Linked DNA regions of Homo sapiens: region 1 is linked to region 2. Evidence: promoter capture Hi-C in 16 types of primary human blood cells and fetal thymus (Javierre and others, 2016). All regions are on one chromosome and are shown on one strand. Each heading gives the region's core, a stretch centred on a gene start or on the middle of the fragment in contact. The rest is flanking DNA. Distances are from core to core; before and after follow the strand shown.

Region 1 (4,538 bases), core at 1,723-4,222, 190 kb after region 2:
GTGGTGGCGCGGGCCTGTAATCCCAGCTACTCAGAATCGCTGGAACCCGGAAGGCGGAGGTTGCAGTGAGCCAAGATCGCGCCGCTGCACTCCAGCCTGAGCGACAGTGAGACTCCATCTCAAAAACAAACAAACAAACGAACAAACAAAATCACTAAAGATAAGGAGACAGATATGGAGAGAGTCACACAACTAGAGGGCGCCTAACCAGTGGCAAGAACTCTTCTTTGGCAGAGTTATGAGAGCTTCAGCTGACGTCAAAACACCTGGCTCTGGGCTGGAATGAATTACCCAAGAATTTGGTTGGCTTTAGCTGAAGTGCAGAGGAAGCTGGCAAGGTCCTGGCTAACTCCTTCCTCAAATATGTACTGAGTACCTTCAGTATGGCATTGTTGCTGGCACTGAAAACACAAAAATGAATGTCACAAAATATATGTCCTCAGGGGTTTTTAATCCATTAGGAACAGACATGTTTAAACAAATGATGACAATATAGTGATATAAATGTTTTAATGGAGCTTTATCTAGCGGAGATTGCAGTAGGATGCCTAGAAGATTGAGTTAACTTTACCTGTTGGAGTGGAGTTGGAAGCAGGTGGGGAGAGGTTCATAGGAAATCCAGGAAGGCTTCCCAGTGGAGATGATGCTTGAACTTTCTTGAAGAATGGTAGGAGTTCTTTACATAAAGGGACTGGAGGGAAAAAGGGGGTAGATCCAGATGCAGGGGAACTGTGAATTCAAAGGCTTGCTAGGGGGCCTCCAGAGAGTCATGTATGGCTTGAGCTACAGGATTCAAATAGAAGATATTCAGGGGATAACAACAAAAAAAGAAGGAAAGGAGTTTGTATACCTTGCAGAGGTCCTCTTATTGCAGAGGTCTACCCTTAGTGGCATTGGGATTATGTAAATGAATGGACACTAAATGAATGGCACAGATACAAATGTAAGAAATATGGCAGAGTGTGAATTTTAGTTGCGTGGCTTCTGTGTGCTCGCTGAGTTAGATAGAATGTGACACTAACAGAGTCAGAGGCCAGAGTCAGCCTCCAAAGGCTTGCCTCTTTTTCAAGTCCTCAGTTATTCTTTCTAATCTAGTAGCTGTCTTGCAGGTAGGGCTTGTCAGTTCACAGACCTGGGTGCCATCATGGCTCAAGGATGATAGCTGGTCAGTGCAGAGCCCCCAAACCAGAAAAACATCACAAAATTTTGTTTTTTAGAAATACAGCCTCACAAGAAGTTTCAAAAATAGTACATAGAGTCCTGCACACCTTCACCCAGTTTCCCCCAATAGTAACATCAAACATAAAGACAGTATAATAGTAAATCAGGAAATTGATATAGGTATTATGCAATAAGGTTTTTTTGGTTTTTGTTTTGAGGTGGAGTCTCACGGTTGTCGTCCAGACTGGAGTGCAGTGGTATGATCTCAGCTCACTACAACCTCCGTCTCCTGGGTTCAAGCAATTCTCCTGCCTCACCCTTCCATGTAGCTGGGATTACAGGCACCCAGCACCACACCCGGCTAATTTTTTTCCTATTTTTAGTAGAGATAGGGTTTTGCCATGTTGGCCAAGCTGGTCTCAAACTGCTGATCTCAGGTGATGCACCTGCTTCGGCATCCCAAAGCGCTGGGATTACAGGCATGAGACACTGCTCCTGGCCATAATGCAATAAGGTTTTTTGAAAGCATCAACAAGCTTCTCAAAAACTGAATCAAGGTTCTCCAGACCCTAAATTTTAAGAATATCCTCAATGGCTATTTTACTACAAAAGTAACATAGCTCATGCTTTAAAAAATATTATATAAGGCCAAGCACGGTGGCTCACGCCTGTAATCCCAGCACTTTGGAAGGCCAACGCGGGTAGATCAACTGAGGTCGGGAGTTCGAGACCAGCCTGGCCAACTGGTGAAACCCCATCTCTACTAAAAAAATACAAAAAAATGGCCCTGCGCGGTGGCTCACACCTGTAATCCCAGCACTTTGGGAGGCCGAGGCGGGCAGATCACGAGGTCAGGAGATCGAGACCATCCTGGATAATAGGTGAAACCCCGTCTCTACTAAAAATACAAAAAAAAATTAACTGGGTGTGGTTGCGGGCGCCTATAGTCCCAGCTACTAGGGAGGCTGAAGCAGGAGAATGGCGCGAATCCGGGAGGCAGAGCTTGCAGTGAGCCGAGATCTGACCACTGCTCTCCAGCCTGGGCAACAGAGTGAGACTCCATCTCAAAAAAAAACAAAAAAAACAAAAAAATTAGCCAGCTATGGTGGTAGGCGCATGTAATCCCAGTTACTTGGGAGGCTGAGGCAGGAGAATTGCTTGAAACCAGGAGGCGGAGGTTACAGTGAGCTGAGATTACGCCATTGTACTCCAACCTGGGCAACAAGGGCAAAACTCTGTCTCAACAAAAAAAAAGAAAAAATTATATAAATGGATAAGCGACAAATTGAAAGCTTACAAAAAATAAAATACGCAAATTAAGATTGCAGTGAAATACCACGTCCGCTTTTCAGATCAAAAAAGTCTGATAATATGCTGTATTGAACTGTGCTTGGGTAAAAGACATTGGAAAATGTTAGAGCAGAAAGTAAATGGATCTGGTCTTGTTGGAGGACTGTTTGTTTGAAAAGACCCAGCATTTCTGCTTCTGGGAATTTGTTCATAAGTTATTCATTTATTTTTATCTTTACTTGTGGTAAAATACACAATTTGCCATCTTAACTATTTTTAAGTATACGATTTAATAGTGTTAAGTATTAATTATTTTTAAAATTTTTGGTTTAAACTGGGCGTGGTGCCTGTTTAAACTGGGCGTGGTTTAAACTGGGCGTGGTTGGCTGGGCGCGGTGGCTCACGCCTGTAATCCCCGCACTTAGGGAGGCCAAGGTGGGTGGATCACTGAGGTCAGGAGTTCAAGACCAGTCTAGCCAACATGGCAAAACCCTGTCTCTACTAAAAATATAAAAATTAGCCAGGTGTGGTAATGCATGCCTATAGTCCCAGCTACTTGGCCACTTGAGAAGCTGAGGCAGGAGATTCACTCGAATTCGGGACACGGAGGTTGCAGTGAGTTGAGATAATGCCACTGCATTCCAGCCTGGGCAACAGAGTGAGACTCTGTCTCAAAAAAAGAAAAAAATTTTGATTTAATATTTTGTATAATGGCCAGGCACACTGGCTTACACCTGTAATCCCAGTACTTTGGGAGGCTGACAAGGGAGGATTGCTTGAGGCCAGGAGTTCGAGACTAACCTGGTCAACATAATGAGACCCCAGCTCTACAAAAAAAAAAAGTGGTGGTGCATGTCTTTTGTCCTACCTACTCAGGAGGTTGAGGCAAGAGGATCACTTGAGCCCAGGAGCTCAAATTTACATGAGCTATGATGATGCCACTGCATTCTAGCCTGAACAACAGAACAAAACTCTGTCTTTAAAAAATAAAACTGTGCATTTGTGTAGAATCACATTTTTCTAAGGATATTCATTGTAGTGAAGCTTTTTGTAGTAAAAGAATAGTCTACATTTTATGTATATGAGACTGGTTCAAAAACTCTGGTAGCCACACAAAGAAGTATTGCACAGCTGTAAAAAAAAAAAAAAAAATGAACAAAGAGGCCGGGCGCGGTGGCTGGTGCCTGTAGTCCCAGCACTTTGGGAGGCCAAAGCAGGTGGATCACCTGAGGTCAAGAGTTCGAGACCAGCCTGGCCAACTAAAAATACAAAAATTAGCTGGGCATGGTGGTAAGCACCTGTAATCCCAGCTACTCGGGAGGCTGAGGCAGGAGAATCGCTTGAATCCAGGAGGCAGAGGTTGCAGTGAGAGGAGATCATGCCATTGCTCTCCAGCCTGGGCTACAGAGCAAGACTCCGTCTCGAAAAAAAAAAAAAAAAAAGAACAAAGAAGCTCTTTATGCACTGACATGTATCAAAGTTCGAGATACATTGTTTAAAAAGTACAGATCAACAATATGTAATGCTTGCCACCATCACTATTTAAAAAGAAGTTAGGGTAGGGGAATACATGTACATATGTGTCCTTGTATGTGCATAGGCTATCTCTGGAAAGATACACCAGGGATATGTGAGAATGGTTGTCCACTGAGGAGGAGAACTGAAGGAGACTGGTTTTGAACTGTTATATTTATTTACTTTGTATCTTTTTGTAAAAGAAAGCAAATTTGAAGCCCTTTCTCCAACCTCATTTTCTCCCCTCTCTCCCCAGATGTAACCACTATTCCTGAATTTGGTGTTTATTTTCTTCTTGAATGTTTTTAAACATAGTACACATTGCTACATATATAATACATATTACAACATATGGATGTATCCATAATATATCACATTGGTGTGCATGCTGTACTTTTCATTCTGCAATGTGCTTTTTCACTCAAGGTTGTTTAAAATATTTACCCATGTTGGGCCGGGCGCAGTCGCTCATGCCTGTAATCCCAGCACTTTGGGAGGCCTAGGCGGGTGGATCAGCTGAGGTCAAGAGTTTGAGACAAGCCTCACCAACATGGTGAAACCCCATCTCTACT
Region 2 (4,322 bases), core at 889-3,388:
TTAGCCGGGTATGGTGGCGGGTGCCTGTAATCCCAGCTGCTTGGGAGGCTGAGGCAGAAGAATTGCTTGAACCCGGGAGGCAGAGGTTGCAGTGAGCCGAGATCGTGCCACTGCACTCCAGCCTGGGCGACACAGCGAGACTCCATTTCAAAAAAAAAAAAAATTTTTCCTGGCTGACCCAATTTAACAGGGGTTGGTTCTTTCAACATATAAGCAGAAAATGAAGTATACGTATCATCTTCAAAGGACTACCATGAAACCAAAATCGGGTTTTGCAATACCCAACTAAAGCATCAGAAGACAGGGTCATCTTACTTGGAAACTGAGTATTGAAAAAGTACAGGCTAACCCCCTGAATGTTTTTCAGGAAACAGCATTCACACTCTGCTATCCACAATTTTCAAAATCTTCATTAAAGGCCCTGAAAATCCTGTTTGCTAAGCCTGCTGGAATTCTGTGGTTGACAGTCATCTTCCCTCAAAACTTAACTGTCCATATTATCTATTTTCGATTTTATTAGGTCACCTTGAGATTATTCTCTCCTCTGAAAAGCATTTGCGGGCTTTAGTTATCAGTATGTCTCTACCGGTAATTTAAAAATCAATAAAGCTCATACACCTTGCAGCCAACTCATATTTTATAGTGCTTGCTAATATATATATATGTGTGTATATATATATATTTCTCAGGGATCAAAAGGCTAACATGAACTGCTTCAAACTTTGGTGAATCTGCATTATATCCTTAGAACATCCTGAGACTCTCCTGTATTGTGCTGCAGCTATACAGCAGGCGCATGATCACAAGGCTTTTTAACAGCCCCCAGATCCCTTACTGCTGCAAAACTTCTCATAAGCGTTCTATGTACTAGACTGTTAACAGTGCTGAGTTAAAATTGTTAAACTGCTTTACCTATTTATTTACCAATCCTATCATCTCAGGGAATTCAAACTCTTTAAACTGCCTTCTGAAACACATCTAGAGTGCTTTCGTACTGCTTTGAGTAGGATCTGCAGCGGGATAAAAACTTGAGTTCTGAGATTCATCCCGACCCAAATTGCAGTTGCCAGGATATGCGGTAGTAATGCAGTGTTTTTTTTTTTTTTTTGAGACTCTACGGATGTATTTTACCTAGAAATAGCCAATCTCTACTAAATCCCTTTTAGTCTTCGAGATTTCCGCGGTAACAATTTCAACAGAAAGGTATTTTCAACAGCGAAAAAACAAGTTATTCTAATTTGGCCTTTATTTTTTACTCAATAGAGCTTGCCATCGTAAGGGCATTTTTCCATACTAACATTTGCAATTGAAGAAAGAAAAATCAAGCTTTTGGCACTAGTGACCCCATGCGTGGACGGCCTATTATCATCACGCTTCTCACAAATCTTTCGAGATAGGATTTGAGGTTAGGCTCACATCGGATCATAGTCCAGTAACTTACTGCTTTCCAAGCCCAATTAACAGCCTAATAACAGCAACACTTATGCCCCGCGAAATCTCAATGTATGACTAACCAATAAGGCGTCTGATAGCGAAGGCAACCTTTTCCCAGGTAAGGAAGAGGAAAAGCAGACAATGAAAGGAATTGATTTATCACAGTGAAGAAAGAAAAGAGAAGGACCCCAAAAGGATCCGTGAGAGCAAAATCCCGGGGTTCGGAAGCCTTGGCCTCAGCAATACTCTCCCCCAAGCCCTCTCAGCCCAACCCAACCACCCCTCTTGTCCCCTGGGAGCCAGCCCTTCGCCGGCACAGATCGGGCAGACCTGGAGGGCACAGCCCCTCACACGGCGCTCAGGCCCGGTTCCGAAATCCGATGCCAAACAGGCGGAAGCCGCAAGCCCCGCGGCCTGAGTTTCAGGGGTAAGAGAATGCGGGTGCGAGGAGATGCGGCCTCCCTCAAGCCGGGAGGCCTCTTGAGAAAGCAGAGACGGGAGAAGAGCGAGCTGGTTCGCAAGTCGGAGCAAAACTGGAAGGAAAGAGGGCTGGGAGCCGGAGATGAAGGAGGTTCTGGGCTAGACCAGCGCCTTCCCCGCATCCTCGGCGACGCCCGTGTTTACCTGAAAGTCTCGGTCTTCGTTGAAGCGGGAGAAGCGGTCCGCCATTTTGCCGCCTTCACTCCTCTCAGGACGACGCTCTCCGGTTCGCTCCTTCCCTCCTGCGACACCCACCCCTCCCCGGTTCCCCGCCTCCTCCCACGCCCACCGGGCGCGCGCAGCCGAGGGAGGGAGCGAGAATGCGCGTCCTGACGGGAGCCCCGCGGCGCAGGCGCCTGCCAGCCCTGGAGGCTGACCCTTCCCTCTAGCCCCTGCTCCGCGCGCGACCCGGAGCGACCCCGGTGGCCGCGCGTGCGCACTCCCGCCCGAGAGCCGCGAGAGCTTCCGGAGGGAAAGGTCAGAGGGGGCACCGTGCGGACAAATCTGGATGTTTTGCTGTTGCTCACTTCCGGGTGTCTTTTCTCACTGTTGCTTCCCCGTGTGCGCAGAAGTCCATCGTCTTCACTAAATAGCAGCATAATGTTGGGCCGAAAGCGCGACCTTAGAGCCAGACTGCTTAGCTTCGAATCTCAGCTCACCCTGAGGATTCAACGGTGAACGAGACAGGAATGATCTCCTCTTATGGGGATTTCATTCCAGTGGAAGAACTCACATAACTCGTAAAATAAATATTTTTAAATATCAACAAGTGCCACAAAAAAGTAAAACTGGCCACAGTGCTGAGAGGGACAGTCTCTGAAAGGACCTTTGACCGAGGCACAGCGAGGAGCCTACAGCATTGGGGCATAGGGAACGTTAGACCCAAAGGCCCAAAGACTGCAAGGAGCTTGACTTCGAGCCATCCTTTGAGAGAAGTATTTCACAAGGGACCGAAGTTGATCCAGATCGACTAAAGCTCTCTGGGCTTCAGTTTCCTTTTTATACAATAGGGAAATTGGATTCAGTAATCTCTGATGCTCCTGCCTAGCGCTGACTATGAGAGTCAAGAATCGGATTTTTCCATCCCTTCTGAGGACCTCACCCAGTGCTCCAGGACTCTTAGCCAAAATACATAAAACACATAGAAGGGTGGCAGGACTTCTCTCCTTTTGAAAAGAGTAGTTGACAGAAATCACACAATGGAAAAATGGGTCTTACCCTGCCCTGAAAGAGTCAAATGGAATGTAATTTTTTGAGGAAGGGTGTGTATTTTCTAGCTGTTACCCTTTGCCCCACCCATGCTTCAGCCTACGCTTCCATCTAAGGGGAGGCAGGGCACACAGAATTCAAACATTGTATTCTTTTTTTTTTTTTTTTTTTGAGACGGAGTCTCGCACTGTCGCCGGAGTACAGTGGCGCAATCTCGGCTCACTGCAACCTCCGCCTCCCAGGTTCAAGAGATTCTCCTGCCTCAGCCACCCTAGTAGCTGGGATTACAGGCGCCCACCACTAAGCCCAGCTCATTTGTTTTTTTTTTTTTTTGAAAAGGAGTCTCACTCTGTCGCCCAGGCTGGAGTGCAGTGGCGCGATCTCGGCTCACTGCAAGCTCCGCCTTCCGGGTTCACGCCATTCTCCTGCCTCAGCCTCCCGAGTAGCTGGGACTACAGGCGCCCGCCACCAAGCCCGGCTAATTTTTTGTATTTTTAGTAGAGACGGGGTTTCACCGTGTTAGCCAGGCTGGTCTCGATCTCCTGACCTCGTGATCCGCCTGCCTCGGCCTCCCAAAATGCTGGAATTACAGGCGTGAGCCACCTCGCCCGGACTTTTTTTTTTTTTTTTTTTTTTGTATTTTTAGTGGAGGCGGGGTTCACCATGTTGGCAAGGCTGGTCTGGAACTCCTGACCTTGTGATCCGCCCGCCTCAGCCTCCCAAAGTGCTGAGATTACAGGCGTGAGCCACCGAGCCTGGCTCAAACATTGTAAAGAGACTTAAGGGTAGCGTGAAAGATTGAATCACGAGGATACACATCACACTGACCTCTTCTTCCTCTCAAAAGCCCACTGAAATGACAGCAGAGGAATAAGAAGTGCATAAATTCACATGGACAAAGAGACCTGGAGAAGAGACAATGGCAGACAACAGATGTCAACATTTTGGAGGCCAGAGAGCACAGATAAATGGAAATGACTTTAGTAGAGTGGAGAAAAAGAAGTCATAGAGTAGGAGAAGACAGGAAAGAAGTTGATCAATGCTAAAGTGCACCAGAAAGGCTCAGGAAGTAGAAGCCCCTGGTGCCACTGATGATTCGATGTCTCTTTTCCCACCCAGGTAGCAAACTAGAGGTTTTCCCTCTGGAAAGGCTGAACCAGAGAGACTGGACTTTATAGGTGAGAAGGAGCAACCATGCT

What was found. Contacts are between HindIII fragments. The CHiCAGO score rates a contact against its expected background, and 5 or more counts as called.
Region 1: a contact is called between a fragment that was not itself captured here and the fragment with the promoter of GPATCH8 in region 2, in 1 of 17 cell types (megakaryocytes). The highest score is 5.3, in megakaryocytes.

The regions. Positions count from the first base shown.
Region 1 is chr17:44,690,935-44,695,472 of GRCh38, forward strand. No RefSeq gene overlaps it. Among named protein-coding and RNA genes, the nearest start is that of CCDC43, 3.4 kb to the left of the region's middle. The HindIII fragment of the contact is 1,042 bases long and covers 2,452-3,493 here.
Region 2 is chr17:44,501,268-44,505,589 of GRCh38, forward strand. GPATCH8 (G-patch domain containing 8) reads right to left here and starts at 2,139. Exons shown (of 8, transcript NM_001002909.4): 1 at 2,059-2,139. The coding sequence starts at 2,103. RefSeq lists an enhancer at 1,873-1,972 and a silencer at 2,073-2,422. The HindIII fragment of the contact is 9,778 bases long and covers 1,325-4,322 here.